Regions from separate parts of the Homo sapiens genome. Here all the other regions are linked to region 1. Evidence: promoter capture Hi-C in 16 types of primary human blood cells and fetal thymus (Javierre and others, 2016). All regions are on one chromosome and are shown on one strand. The core of a region is centred on a gene start or on the middle of the fragment in contact, and the rest is flanking DNA. Distances in the headings are between cores, read along the strand shown.

Evidence for each region. Contacts are between HindIII fragments. The CHiCAGO score rates a contact against its expected background, and 5 or more counts as called.
Region 2: a fragment that was not itself captured here is called in contact with the fragment with the promoter of REPS1 in region 1 in 5 of 17 cell types (non-activated CD4 T cells, activated CD4 T cells, total B cells and 2 more); the score reaches 6.4 in non-activated CD4 T cells.
Region 3: a fragment that was not itself captured here is called in contact with the fragment with the promoter of REPS1 in region 1 in 1 of 17 cell types (total CD8 T cells); the score reaches 5.3 in total CD8 T cells.

The regions. Positions count from the first base shown.
Region 1 is chr6:138,986,192-138,990,813 of GRCh38, reverse strand. It overlaps REPS1 (RALBP1 associated Eps domain containing 1), which reads left to right and starts at 2,561. Exons shown (of 20, transcript NM_001286611.2): 1 at 2,561-3,284. The coding sequence starts at 3,132. RefSeq lists silencers at 2,330-2,569, 2,760-3,059. The HindIII fragment of the contact is 2,634 bases long and covers 1,535-4,168 here.
Region 2 is chr6:139,276,571-139,281,192 of GRCh38, reverse strand. TXLNB (taxilin beta) reads left to right here. Exons shown (of 10, transcript NM_153235.4): 3 at 4,272-4,363. The region is part of intron 2 of LOC102723690 (a long non-coding RNA gene); the gene reads right to left. Among named protein-coding and RNA genes, the nearest start is that of TXLNB, 13 kb to the left of the region's middle. The HindIII fragment of the contact is 2,399 bases long and covers 1,405-3,803 here.
Region 3 is chr6:139,259,326-139,263,947 of GRCh38, reverse strand. TXLNB (taxilin beta) reads left to right here. Exons shown (of 10, transcript NM_153235.4): 5 at 1,175-1,369; 6 at 3,511-3,630. Among named protein-coding and RNA genes, the nearest start is that of TXLNB, 30 kb to the left of the region's middle. RefSeq lists an enhancer at 541-1,740. The HindIII fragment of the contact is 2,843 bases long and covers 642-3,484 here.

The DNA of each region.
Region 1 (4,622 bases), core at 1,312-3,811:
TTTTTTTTTTTGATACAGAGTCTCGTCCTGTCTCCCAGGTTGGAGTGCAGTGGCACAATCACTGCTCGCTGCAGCCTCTATCTCCTGGGCTCCAGTGATCCTCCCACCTCAGCCTCCCGAGTAGTTGGGACCACAGGTGCACACCATCATGCCTGGCTATTTTTGTATTTTTGGTGGAGATGGTGTTTCACCGTGTTACCCAGCCTGGTCTTGAACTCCTTAGCTCAAGCAATCCACCCACCTCAGCCTCCCAAAGTGCTGGGATTACAGGCATAAGCCACCATGCCTGGTGAAGAAATATTTTCTTAATAACAAACTTAACAAAGAAATTAGACAGGCAAGATAGGGTAGTGATTTTTAGAGTTGAGACAGCCTGGAGTTTGAATCCCAGATCCGGGTATTTAATAGCAACATGACTTACACAATACTTAACCCATTTTGCCTCAGTTTCCTAATCTGTCAAAAAAAAAAAAAAACCTAGTAGTACCACTTAATAGGGTTGTTGTGAATAATGTGGTTATTAGTGTAAAGCTTTAGAACAATGCCTGAAACTTAGTAATTATTCAATAATTAGCCGTTAAAAATGTAACAGCTATATATGTAATGTCAGATAGTGAAAAGTGTTATAAAGAAAAAGAATTCAGGTTGGGTGCAGTGGCTCATGCCTGTAATCCCAGCGCTTTGGGAGGCTGAGGTGGGTGAGCCCAAGAGTTTGAGACCAGCCTGGGTAACATGGCAAAACTCTGTCTCTACAAAAGCCACATACACAAAATTTAGGTGGGCATGGTGGCCTGGGCCTGTGGTCCCAGCTACCTGGGAGGCTGAGGTGGGAGAATCACCTGAGCCTGGGAGGTCGAAGCTACAGTGAGCCAAGATTATGCCACTGCACTCCAGCCTGGGTGACAGTGGGAGACTCTGTCTCAAAAGAGAAAAAAAAGGAATTCAGATAAGGGGATAGTGCATGGTGGGATTATTTTACAGCAGCTGTTGCAGGAAGGCTGCTCTGAGGAGGTGACATATGAGCAGGGACCTGAAACCATATGAGAGAATACGCCATGCCATGGTTTGTGGAAGGACTATTTTAGATGGCAGGAACAAAGGCCCTGGGGCCGACAAGAGCTGCAAGGCCTAGGAGAGGTGGCAGAGAAAAAGATGCAAAGACAATTGTGAGCCAATCCCTACCCCATTGTGCTCTTTCTGTTTACACCTTTGGAAGGCAGCTGTCTGGGGGGGGTCTGATCACTTGCTGCAGGTGCCCTGAAAGGACACATGAGGGGCTGCTGTAGCAAACTGAAAGTCTTAGAGATGGGAAATAAGCTTAATGGATAGTATATACTTACCTTTATCAAATACTACTAGTCAAGTCAGAAGACATTGACAGGTCTAAAATCCCTTATCTTTCTTAAAAAATAGAAAGATAATAGAATGCCTGTGACTGTGTACATATTAACATTCTACAAAGACCTGGAGTGAAATGAGTAAATATTGACACTAAGTGGGATCCATAAAGGCTAGAAATAGCTTCATGCAAGCTTAGTTTAGATTTTGCCTCCAAATGAGGCAGGGCAGGTTTTACTTCCAAAGGGTTACAAAAAAAAGTCTTTGGGTTTTCAGTGCGCTTTGAATTTTGCAATTACAGATAAATGACTGGGAACCTGTAATAATTTCCTCATATGTGTCATTTATAGGATCCGCACTCTGGGAAACAACTTGTAGAAGACAAAATAAAAACCAGAACTCTGGGTAATTCTGCCTTAGCTCCCGTCTTTGAAGTATTTTATATTTGCTAAGTATAAATTCTTAAGATATTCTACTTGAAATAGCTGAAGAATCCCCTCTCTGGGACAGGTGCAGATTAAAAGAGCGCCACTCCATGATTTTCATAAAGGAGAAAATACGGAAGGCAGCCCCTGTGGGCAGCCCCGGGCCTACATGAGTTGATAGAGTTGAAGGTATAAATGTAGAGTATTAAGTTCCCAGTGACCGGAATGACCTGGTGAACAAAGAGGACAACTTTGCCAGTTTTCCCCTCTATTCAGCACATTTTGTTTCTCAGGTAAACATGGCTTGAAGCACGAGTGAGATGAAGCCTCAATGTTGGTGTCTACGTGGAGGCTTCCCGGATAGCCAGGATGTTCATAGCCCGGATGTTCATAGCCCTTCAGAACAGATGGAAATACTGCATTTATCTTCATCTGTACCGAAAAGGTACAGATAGAATGATAATAACCTGAACAAGGCTCCCCTTTCAATCCAATTATTCAGACGCTTAGGACCAGAAACTGCGAAACATAAAAACTGCAACCCGGATCTTAGTTATCTCGGTCTTAATGAGCTGCCGGCTGTTTCCCACTGCACCCCCCTTTCCGGGGGTCTTGCTGCTGAGATCTCCGCGCAGAGGGCGGCTCGGTCATCCCGCCGCCGGGCGCCGGCCACCAGGGGGCGCTGCGGCCTCCTCCCTCTCCCGGGAGCGGCCAAGCCAGCCCGGTGGGTGTTTCTCTCTCCCTCTCGCGCTCTCTCCTCCCGGCCTCACATCCGGGTCTGGAGCGCGGCCGCCGCTGTCACTGTTGGTGCGGGCGCGTCGGGGCCGGGCCGGGGCACTGTAAATGGCGGCGGAGGGAGGCGGAGCGGCGGCCACGCTCAGCCCAGATCCCCCGAAACTTTAGGTTCGAAGCCCCACAACTTTCCGGGAAGCGCTGCCGCTCCGGAGGCGTGGACGGAAGGGGAAGCCGAGGCGGGAAGTCTGGGGGAATCGGCAGGGAGCCGGGGAGACTCGAACCCGCGGCGGGGGCGGAGTCCGCCAGTGCCTCGCGCCTCCGCGGCCCCCGCCTCTTTCTCTGCACCCTCCCCGCGGCCGGAGCCGGAGCCGGAGCCGGAGCCGTAGTCGCAGCCGCAGCCGCAGCCGCGCGCCGGGCCTCGCAGGCAGCGGCGCGGCGAGCGCAGCCGGGCCCCCTCCTCGCGACCTCCGGGCCCTGTTGCTCGGGCGCACCTGGCGCGTGTGAGGCCGGGGCCGGCGTTTTCGGGAAGCTAGCAGGAGGCCGGGCCACGCGCAGCCCCTGCCGGCCCAGGTTCCTGGGGCCGGGCCCCGAGTAGTGCATGCGGGGCGGGGCGGCCGTGAGCCGGAGGCGAAGATGGAAGGCTTAACGCTGAGCGATGCGGAGCAGAAATACTATTCAGATCTCTTCTCCTACTGCGACATTGAGAGCACCAAGAAGGTGGTGGTCAACGGGCGGGTGCTGGAGCTGTTCCGGGCCGCGCAGCTGCCGAACGACGTGGTCCTACAGGTAACGTCGCGTCCCGGGGCCGGCGGGCGGCTTAGGCCTGCAGTCACTGGCCTCCAGGAGTGGGAGTGGGCGCCGATTCCTTGGGGCCCGGCGGGGGGCTGGTTCCTCGGGGGGTCCCCGCAGCGGGCAGGGGCCGCAGGTGCCCGGGAGGCCTGGACTCGCGCCGCGGCCAAGGGGGAGGGGGTTGCCCTTAGAGGACGGAACTCCTGTGGTGGGGGTCTGAAGAGCCTCAGCCGGTATCCCCCACGACCCTGAGAATCTGTGCTCTGTACTGCAAGAGCTATCTCACTTGAAGGATCTTAGGTTGTTAATGTGTGTGAATCCTAGAACCTGGCATATAGAGAGCTTTTCGGATCCTGCAGAGTAGTAAAGTTATCAGTATGGGCAAAATGGTTTTTTTAATTCTTGGATTAACCGAGAAGACGTGATAAAGTGAGTTCTATAGATTTAGGAATCGAAGAAGCAGTTTTTTTAAAGGAAGCAAAATTCTTAGGGAAATTTTTTAAAATGTGAACTACTTAGTAGTTTTACAAGTAGGCATACAAGAAGTTGTAATTATCTGTAGAACGTGTGTATGTGATGAGACTGAACAATGTTTTTCAACAGGCATTCGAAAGCATTTGTGGAACTTGTGGATTTGGGTTGGGAGATGAGTATTGAACAGCTGGTAGGCAGAAGTGCGTTATTTGCCCTAATCTGAAGCCCTGGAGGAGCAAACCCTGTAGGTTTAAAGCCTTTTTTTATCATATCTGCTTTTGAAACAGAGGACTTCCTAGAAGTTCTTATCTAATGTATGTGGTGAGCATTAATGCTACTCTGTTTAATGATTCATAGCTGCTAGTAGGAGTCTGTCTAAACAGTATGTTAGGAACAGGTTTTAAGCTTTCATCTTTTATATTGATCCAAGCTAGTTATCCACATCTCCAAAATTTAAAGCCACATGTATAGGTGTATGTAGTGGACTGCAAAGCATTGGACCAGGGTTTTGAAGGCTGGGTCCTTGACCCTACTCTGCTGTTAACCAGCAGTGTGACTTTGGGTCAGGCACTTTCCATTTTCAAGCATAAGTATGTTCATCCACAGAATGAAGGCAAGTTTCTTCCAACAAAAATTCTGTGAAGAATAAAAATGTCCACACACAGGTCTCTGTTTTAGAAGTTAAGTCTGCATTAACTATGACTAAGTTGAACGAGTTCGATCTTTTTAAATGGTCTTGTGTTTTACATTGCTTTTTTAAAGGTGGGATGTCTTACGTGCCAGTGAAGGGCAACGAGGAGTCCCAAATTCATCCTGTTGAAAAGGGACAAATAGTAAATATTTTGGGCTTTGCTGGCCACA
Region 2 (4,622 bases), core at 1,355-3,854, 290 kb before region 1:
TGTGAAATGACCAAATCTTAAAGGTTGAACTCAGAATCCATTTAGTCAACCCACTAATTTTATAGACAGGGAAATTAAAGCCAGAGAGTTTGAGAGTCCACACACACACAAAATAATAAAAATAAAAAAATAAAAAAATAAATAAATAAATCACTCAACTAGTTGATGGCAGAGTTGGTTCTGGAACCCAGGTCTCCTATCCTTAATCCAGTGTGAATTTAATAATACTTTCCTTCCTATCCCCTGCATACATGAATTTTACTTCCCTTAAAAGATATCTATAGATGCTCAGGAATTATTTATCTCATGCTTATTTTTAGAAATCATATCCTATTAGAAGAAAAACAAAACTAACAGTGAAATATAAATCTAGGTCTAACATTTGAAAGAGGGACATTCACAGTCTTTTCTGGCTTTAAGTTTCTGCCACAATTCATGGAAATCAGGAAGGTGGTTAGAGAGGTACACAAGTACGTATTTATAATGAAATTTAACCCCAAAGTTCTAAAAAAAAAATTTTGGAAGAGAAAAGGCATACTTTTGTTTTTGAGAGATGGAGTCTCGCTCTGTCCCCCAGGCTGGAGTGGAGTGGCCAATCTCAGCTCACTGCAACCTCTGCCTCTCAGGTTCAAGCGAGTCTCCTGCTCAGTTTCCCAAGTAGCTGGGACTACAGGCGTGCGCCACCACGCCCAGCTAATTTTTGTATTTTTTAGTAGAGACGCGGTTTTACTATGTATTGGCCAGGCTGGTTCTCCCGACCTCTGGTGATTTGAACACATTAAATCTGCATAAGTTGTCACCAAACTTAGTATAAACAATCATTACTATGCTAAAAGTTTCAGAAAAATCCTGGTCCACATTTCTGCAGCTGGCTTAGTTGCCTTTAATTTCAGGTTTTTTGTTTCTTTCTTTCTTTCTTTTTTTTTTTTTTTTTTTTTTTTAGAGAGAGAGTCTTGCTCTGTTGCCAGGCCGGAGTGCAGTGGTACAGTCTCGGCTCACTGCAATTTCTGCCTCCCTGGTTCAAGCGATTCTCCTGCCTCAGCCTCCAGAGTAGCTGGGATTACAGGCATGTGCCACGACACCAGCTAATTTTTGTATTTTTAGAAGAGGCAGGGTTTCACCACGTTGGCCAGGATGGTCTCGATCTCCTGACCTCGTGATCTGCCCGCCTCGGCAAGCATGAGCCACCACGCTCGGCCAGTTTTTTTGTTTCTTTGATGTAAAAATAATTTCTCCACCTTCCAATAAAACTGTGCCAGTGACCACAGCCTTATGCAACAGCGCTGTGTCTGCTACACAGGTGGTTCCACTTTCATGTAGACTTCCTACCACGCTGAGCATTTCGCAGTGTGGTGGCTACATGCCCACATGCCTTCCTAGCTTTCATGAGGAAGAAATGAAGCTTGCTTTGGAAGAACACATTAGGGAGAAGGCAGGTGATTCCTTCCTGATAAAGCGTCCCTGAATAAAGTCAGTTTTTCCTCTTTTGTTTGACACTGTCACCAAATGACCCTATTTCCATGGAGATGTAATGATAGCCTTTTGTAGATGATGAGCAAGTCTCTGTCTACTCCCCTCCTCCATGATTACTTCACATAGCACCCTAGTCCCACAACACCAATGGAAGTTTAAAAACTGAGGTCAGTGATGTTGTAAATTTATGAATTCTGCACATGCCCATCTCCAGTTTCCTGGATTTTTTTTAATTAATCTCCAGTTTTAGTGCTTTTCCTGTGAGACTTACAAATAGAAATTCTGTTTCCTGGATTTTTTGTTGAAGGGAAGAATAATTTTTGAAGGCATATTGATGCACCTGGATGTTAACCTTCTATACAAAATAACACAGTAGAGCAGAAAGAGACCTCAGTGAGTGTGAAGAGTAAAAAACAAAACAAACAAAACCAAAAAGAAACCTCTTCTCACAGTCACAGAAAATAAAACCAAAGGGGAGAAGATACTTAATGTGGGAAGAAAGCAAGAACCTTTGGACTCACTCATTTCTATCTCTCCCAAACAAGACAGGTAATGGTTTCACATGTCGGTACACACACTGAGAGGTATTCCAGGATACATAAAACATCACAGGTGAGAGTAAGACCTGTTTTTCCTCTAGTTGGTCACAAAAAATTGTTTTCATGACAGTGTTTATTTGATTCACATGATACGAGTTTGAGCTAGTTGGCTTTGATTTTTTTATTTGTTCGTTTGTTTTTTGCAGTGGAGTGCAGTGGTGCAATCTCAGCTCACTGCAATCTCTGCCTCCTGGGTTCAAGTGATTCCCCTGCCTCAGCCTCCCGAGTAGCTGGGACTACAGGCATGTACCACCAAGCCTAGCTAAGTTTTTGTATTTTAGTAGAGATGGGGTTTCACCATGTTGGCCAGGATGGTCTTGATCTCCTGACCTCGTGATCCGCCCGCCTTAGCCTCCCAAAGTGTTGGGATTACAGGCGTGAGCCACCGTGCCTGGCCAGCTTTGTTTTATTCTATTATTATCATCATTTACTGAGCACTTGCCATGGGCCAAACACTGTGTTGCATCCTGGGCCAAGAATGATCAAGAGTAGTCTCTTGACTTTAATAGATGACACTCTAACTTGAGATTGTAGTCTTCATGTGGGCACCTTCCCTGGACTGAAGACAAAGGTGAAGGGATGGCCTGACCAATGCAAATCCATCCCTGTCAGTAGAGGGATAACCCAAAGCACATGCCTGGCAGGGGCGAGGCGTCAGTGATTATCAGCTGCAAATGCCACAGGCCATAATTGGAGAGCTGGGAGGGACCCTACTCACACCCACCTTCCCCTGTTTTAGGCTAATCTGAACTGACTCACTAGGCAAAGATAGACAAAACTAACTGTTGGGAATGAGGTCATTTAAAAAAAAAGTTGCCTTCTATTTCTCTAGGTCTCTCTAGCATCAGAATTCCACATGAGAGTGGAGTGACTTAGAACAAGTAGGCTAGCCTTGGATTCAAGCCTTCTCTCTGCCAGCACTAATCATGTAACTTTGGACTTTTCTGGGCCTTAAATACTAAAATGCATAAAATTAACCGGTTAGTCTGGATGCTCTTTGAAATTCCTTCTAGACCTAAAATTCCTTGATTCCATGTAAAGTTGCCAGGTTTAGCAAAGGAAAATACAGGATGTCCAGAAAAATTAGAATTTCAGGTAAACAACGAATCATTTTTTAGTACAAATATGCCCCATGTCCTATATTTCATCTGGCAATCCTAATTTCATGACATATATGCCTCTCCAAGATGAAAGCAAGTACTCTAGCCAAGGGGAAATGTCTGTTCTTGGGGGAAAGGTTGTCAATTTTCTTAAGCAGATTTATGTCAGGAAGTGTGGGCTTTGTTGTGTGGCTTGACCACCCTATTCTGATTAAACAGAGTGGTTTTCATAGATAGGTAGGGATGGGAAAAATGCCCCACCCTTTCATGATTATTTAACAGGGTTAATTTTTTTTTAGTGTAGCATAAACTCCAACTGGAAACAAAATGAAACTGCCAACGGATATTAAGGCCTAGGTGGGGGAAAGGAAGGCCAGAGAAGGCTGTGTCCATTATCACAGAGACAGAAAAAGGCTTGTGGAAAGGCTCTCCATGTCTTTACTTGGTTTTCCTTCTATAATGATTTTATTCTATTTGGTAGGAAACAGGATCAGAGTTATTCCCACTCCAACGCCAGGGAATGGGTTTATGTACAAAAAAGAGAAACTTGGTTCCCCCTAAAAGAGGGAAAAGAAGTACCAAAAGAACAAAAAACACAGGGGAAAAAACGGGCAGGCTACTTCATCAAGCTTCTCTGCTTCTGGCTGGAATCCCAGCAACTCCGTGTTGCTGTTTCATACTAGTCGGAAATTTTGATTGGCTGTTTTGCTTCCTTTTTGTTAATTCAAGTGGGAAAACGGGTGACGTATTCTTTCAGAAAGTATTTTTGATGTATAAAATCTTTTGATTCTGAAGAATACAGGGAGGAGAAATAAGAACGGATTCTTGTGATGAAAACTGGGAGACTTCTGTTATAGCAAACATTTATTGAGAGTCTGCCATGAACCTCACACCGTACCACACATTCACAAACTTCCCAACTAATGTTCACTCTGTAAGGTAGGTGTCATCATTTCTATAGGAAAGAAAATTACATCTGATAAGATGAATGGCTTAGCCAAGGTTGGGAATAATTAGCAAGTGGTCAATCTGAGACTCCAGCCCTTATCACCTGACTGTAAATTCAACACTTATTTTTTTCATGTCTTTTTTTTTTAAGGCAAAGAAGCCAACCTGCTAATGCAAAATCTGAACAAGTTGCAAACACCGGAAGAAAAGTTTGATTTTTTATTCAAGAAGTATGCTGAATTGGTAAGATCTTGGATTAGCTTCTTTTCTCAGAACGATTAGTGAGCCCAGTGCCTCTAGCTTCAAGGAACAACAAACACCTGCCAATCCGAGAATGAATTGTAAACAGCAACATCTGAGGTCTGTGCGCTAACCCTGCAGATTATGAGACCCACAGCTAAGATGTGGCATTCTCTCTAGTAAAGCTAGGCAGTGGCCTTCTCCTTTATTTCTGCTTCTTAAAAAATTCTTTTGAAGGAATGCCCATCAGAATCTCTATCTG
Region 3 (4,622 bases), core at 814-3,313, 270 kb before region 1:
CATTATTCTGTTATGATAAAGGTCTGTACAATTACTTCTGTTAAAAATTATTATTTCTTTTAAAAAATCCTGTTACATAATTTGAACTTGGTAGGCAATCAAATTCAGTATAATTTTACTTGCCAACAACGAAGCAAGCTTTCATATTAACAATTAATCAGAACTGAAAGGAATCCTAAAATGTCTGTATCATTTGTCAGCCACGTAAATGTCTCTATCTTTGGTAGGATGTAGCAAAATTAAACCCTTTTATTCAAAAAGAATAACAATCGCAAAGCAATTCTCAATATAGATATGGAGGAAATTGGAGCTCATTGTTAGTGGCTAGCAATGAATGGAGAGTTTTGATTTAGGAGAAAAGAGAACAGAAATGATATAAAAGTTAATTTGCAATTCTTCAATGTTAACAAAGCGGAAGAAGGAAAATTAGATGTTTCACTTTAGAGTTAAAGAAGATTTGAAACTTAATATTGCTTTCAGATTCAAAATTTACATTGAACATTTTAATTACCCTATGTGACACATTTAATGATTGTTCTTTCAAAAACAAAATAATATCCAGCATGTTTGGAAAGATTCCCTTTTATATTCTTGAATGGCTGTAATTGAGCTATGCTGTCTTAGTTTCCTTTTTTAAAGCTTTTTGATGAAAGTTTTTTCTCACAAATAGAAAATTTTTATTGTGATCACTTATATTTACAAAACTTGGTAATATAATTATGTGGTTAATATGCCATGGTTTTTACAGGGAAATATAAGATCTATTGTTCTCCCTTTACCAAACCAGAGAAACACATGATCTGTCTCATCCATCAGTAAACTCAAGTGGCCTTTTTTTCAGGCCACAGCCAAGAGATCAAAATCGTGTGACTGTGTGTTTGTTAGAAATCGCTGCAGTTCATTCACTCAGCAAGAGACGCATCATCTTTAAAACAAGTCTATTCATCACTGACTACAAATTCAAGGCCTTCACAGCACCTGTTCTGAGTAACTATGTACTCACAGCTGAAACCTTTACTCATACATTTATTTTGGGGCTGAGCAGCTTTAGCTCTAGAGAACTGAGAAAAAACATCCCACCTACTCTGCACACTTATCTCCTTTAGGTGACCTAATGCTGAGTTCTATAAACCCGGGGTGCATTTAAACAAAATGTTTTGCTTTTTATCCGCAGGAAGAGGCGCTTCAGCGGGCACGTGAGGAAGAAGAGAAAAGGAAGGAAATCACAAGCCATTTCCAGAGTACCCTCACGGACATCCAGGGCCAGATCGAGCAGCAGAGTGAGCGAAATATGAAGCTCTGTCAGGAGAACACAGAGCTTGCAGAAAAGCTGAAAAGCATCATCGATCAGTATGAGCTCAGAGAGGAGGTGAGAACCACATCAAACAACTTAGAACAGTACATAGATCCGGATCTGGGAGCTAAAGGTGGGAACTTGGTTAATAAGACAGTTACAGCCAGCCCTCTCAACTGATTAATATTTAGGATTGGATTTCCTTGACGAGCCAAAATGAAGACAGATGGTCTTACAAAATACCTGACTGAAAGTCATATGGGATTTCTTCAAAACTGGCATCACTACAAAGTAAAGGCAATAAATAGAAAGTGATAGGCTGTGGGCACAGTTTTCCTTGAAAATAATATTTCTCAGCCTTTTAAAAATCCTCTCTCTATAGCCAAAAATAACTCACGCACTCCCTCTTAAGAATTGCCATGTCATCTAAATTAAGAGTCTGTATTCTGGCCAGGCGCGGTGGCTCACGCCTGTAATCCCAGCACTTTGGGAGGCCAAGGCAGGTGGATTAAGAGGTCAGGAGTTCGAGAGCAGCCTGGCCAACATAGTGAAATCCCGTCTCTACTACAAATACAAAAAAAAATTAGCCAGGCGTGGTGGTGGGCGCCTGTAATCCCAGCTACTCGAGAGGCTGAGGCAGGAGAATCTCTTGAACCCAGGAGGTGGAGGTTGCAGTGAGCTGAGATCACGCCACTGCACTCCAGCCCAGGCGACAGTGTGAGACTCCGTCTCAAAAAAAAAAAAAAAAAAAAGAGTCTGTATTCTATGTACCCTACCAGGCCAATAATAGTATTAATAATGTAATCATTGTAATAATAATGATATCATTTATTCAGTGGTTAGTTTGTATCAGGCAATGTGCTAAGTGCTGTACTTTACATACCATATGGCATTTAATTGTCTCAACAATCTTATGCATTAGATAATAATATATTATCCATATCTTATAGATGAGAAGCAGAAGCTAAGAGATTAAACCACTTACCCACAGTCACAAGAGGCAAAAGCCTTTTACTTTGAATAGGTTATATTAGGGGGATGATCAAGGTCTTTTGTTATACCCAAATTATATTTTAATATTTAATATATTTTTAAGATTCCAGATACCCTCTCAGGATTTTGACACATCATATTCCTTTCCCTATCCCACCCAAATTTTAAATCTCTGCTTTAAAATGTAACATAACATAGTCAAAGCGGCTCTGTTGGTAACATGCTAAGATTTTATCAAGCACAAAACTGAGCCAACAGCATATGGTCGCGGTGGTTAGGTAAATCAAGAAACTCCTAATAGTAAGCCAAAATGCCATGCTACCATTTTATCTTGTCATAAGGATCAATCCCGCTCCAGAATGGAGGTTCAGACTAAAGAAGATAGGAAGGAGTGAAAGGAAAATGTCCATATTCTTCAGAGAGATCTCAGATGGGAATGGGCTGCTATGCTAGTTGTATATTCCTGGGACTGGTTCTAAGTAAAGCCCAAGGGGAGAATTCCATGTCCTGTTTCTGATTGGACCTCCCAGTGACCAGGAATTTATCCATCCTGAGGTAGAGTTGGAAGTTTCTCTTGACCAAACTAGTCCAGAGGTCAAAAGGTGTGGCGAGCTCTGCACATTTGCGACTCAATTTCTCTATGACCCTTGGCCTTGTCATCTCCACCAGAGCAACAGAGTAGAATTCAGGGGGGCTCAGGCCTCACTCCCAGACCTCGGACCACATGCTGGCACCCCAAGGCTTTCTCACAACGCCAGAGGCAAGAATGCAGAGAATTCATCATGATAAATTGCACAAGTGTTGCAATTAAAAGTGGTTTTATATTCACAGAAAGAGCCAAAATACCAAATGATACAACTGTAGCCCCTGTATATTGTATACTGATACATCATTGTCTGTGCTGTCTAGCATAATAAATAGCATCATATCTAATAGTTACCAAACGTAGAAAAATATTGTATGGATCTTTTGGCATTGACACTGCTGAACTCTGGTGCCTCTACCTTTTATAGCTAGCTTTGTGTGTGTGGTGCAAAGTCAGGGGGAGGGGTTCACCAATTTACAGCTTTATTATAAAGCTGTAAGTGATGCCAATGCATTTATCCCTCTCTTCTTTTAAATCTTAAAACCTGGGGAATGTGTATTAATGTGAATTATTTTACTTTGCATTTTTAAGCACCAATAATAAACCAAGCTTTCTATGTACACTTTATTTTTCTTAGCATCTGGACAAAATATTTAAACACAGAGAACTGCAGCAGAAGCTGGTGGATGCAAAGCTTGAGCAGGCCCAAGAAATGATGAAGGAAGCGGAGGAGCGACACAAACGAGAAAAGGAATATGTATTTATCATTTTAGTCGTTGTGCATATCTGGTCTACCTCAGTGTCAGAGACACTCTGAGCAAGTTGTTTTGTATTTATTTATTTATTTATTTATTTGAGACAGAGTCTCGTTCTGTCATTCAGGCTGAAATGCAGTGGCGTGATCTCAGCTCACTGCAACCTCAGCCTCCAGGATTCCAGCGATTCTCCTGCCTCCCCAAGTAGCTGGGATTACAGGTGCCCACTACCACAACAGGCTACTTGTTTTGTATTTTTAGTAGAGACAGGGTTTCACCATGTTGGCCAGGCTGGTCTTGAACTCCTGACCTCAGGTGATCCGCCTTCCTCGGCCTCCCAAAGTGCTGGGATTACAGGTGTGAACCATCGCGCCTGGACGCAAGTTGTTTTTATAATGGTCAAAGAGCACTAGACTGATGGAGAAAGAGCCCCAGCTTCTATGGAGAACTAAATTAGCCAGCCCAGTCTGAGGCACTATGTCTACACTACTTTCTACATAAAATAGTCATTCATCTATTCCACACATATTTTTCAAGTGCCTGTTATCTACTAAGCACCGTGTTAGGTGCGGGGACATAGCCGTGAACAAGACAGAGAAGGGGCATCTCCCACTATGGAGATTAGAGTCTAACTGGAAAGAGACAAGCAATAGACAAGCAAACAGGGAAGGGTCATTTCAGACAATAATCACCACTACTAAGGAAGTAAGGAGAAACTGAGAAGGGGCCAAAGAAGGGGACGTACTTTAGATTGAGTGACCAGGAAGGCCTCCTGGAGGGGCGAATGCTTGAGCTAAGCCCTGCCAGATGAGGAGCTGCTACTTGGAGCATCGTCTCCAGCATCTGCAGCAGCAACAAACGCCCTAATGCTGGAACCAATTTGGTGTGCTCCAGAAACAGGAAAAGGTCAGGGAAGCAAGAGCATGGGGGAGAGGTTCAAAATGAAGTTGGAGAGGTAAGCAGGTGCCAAACTGTGTAGCTTTGTAGGGCTTAA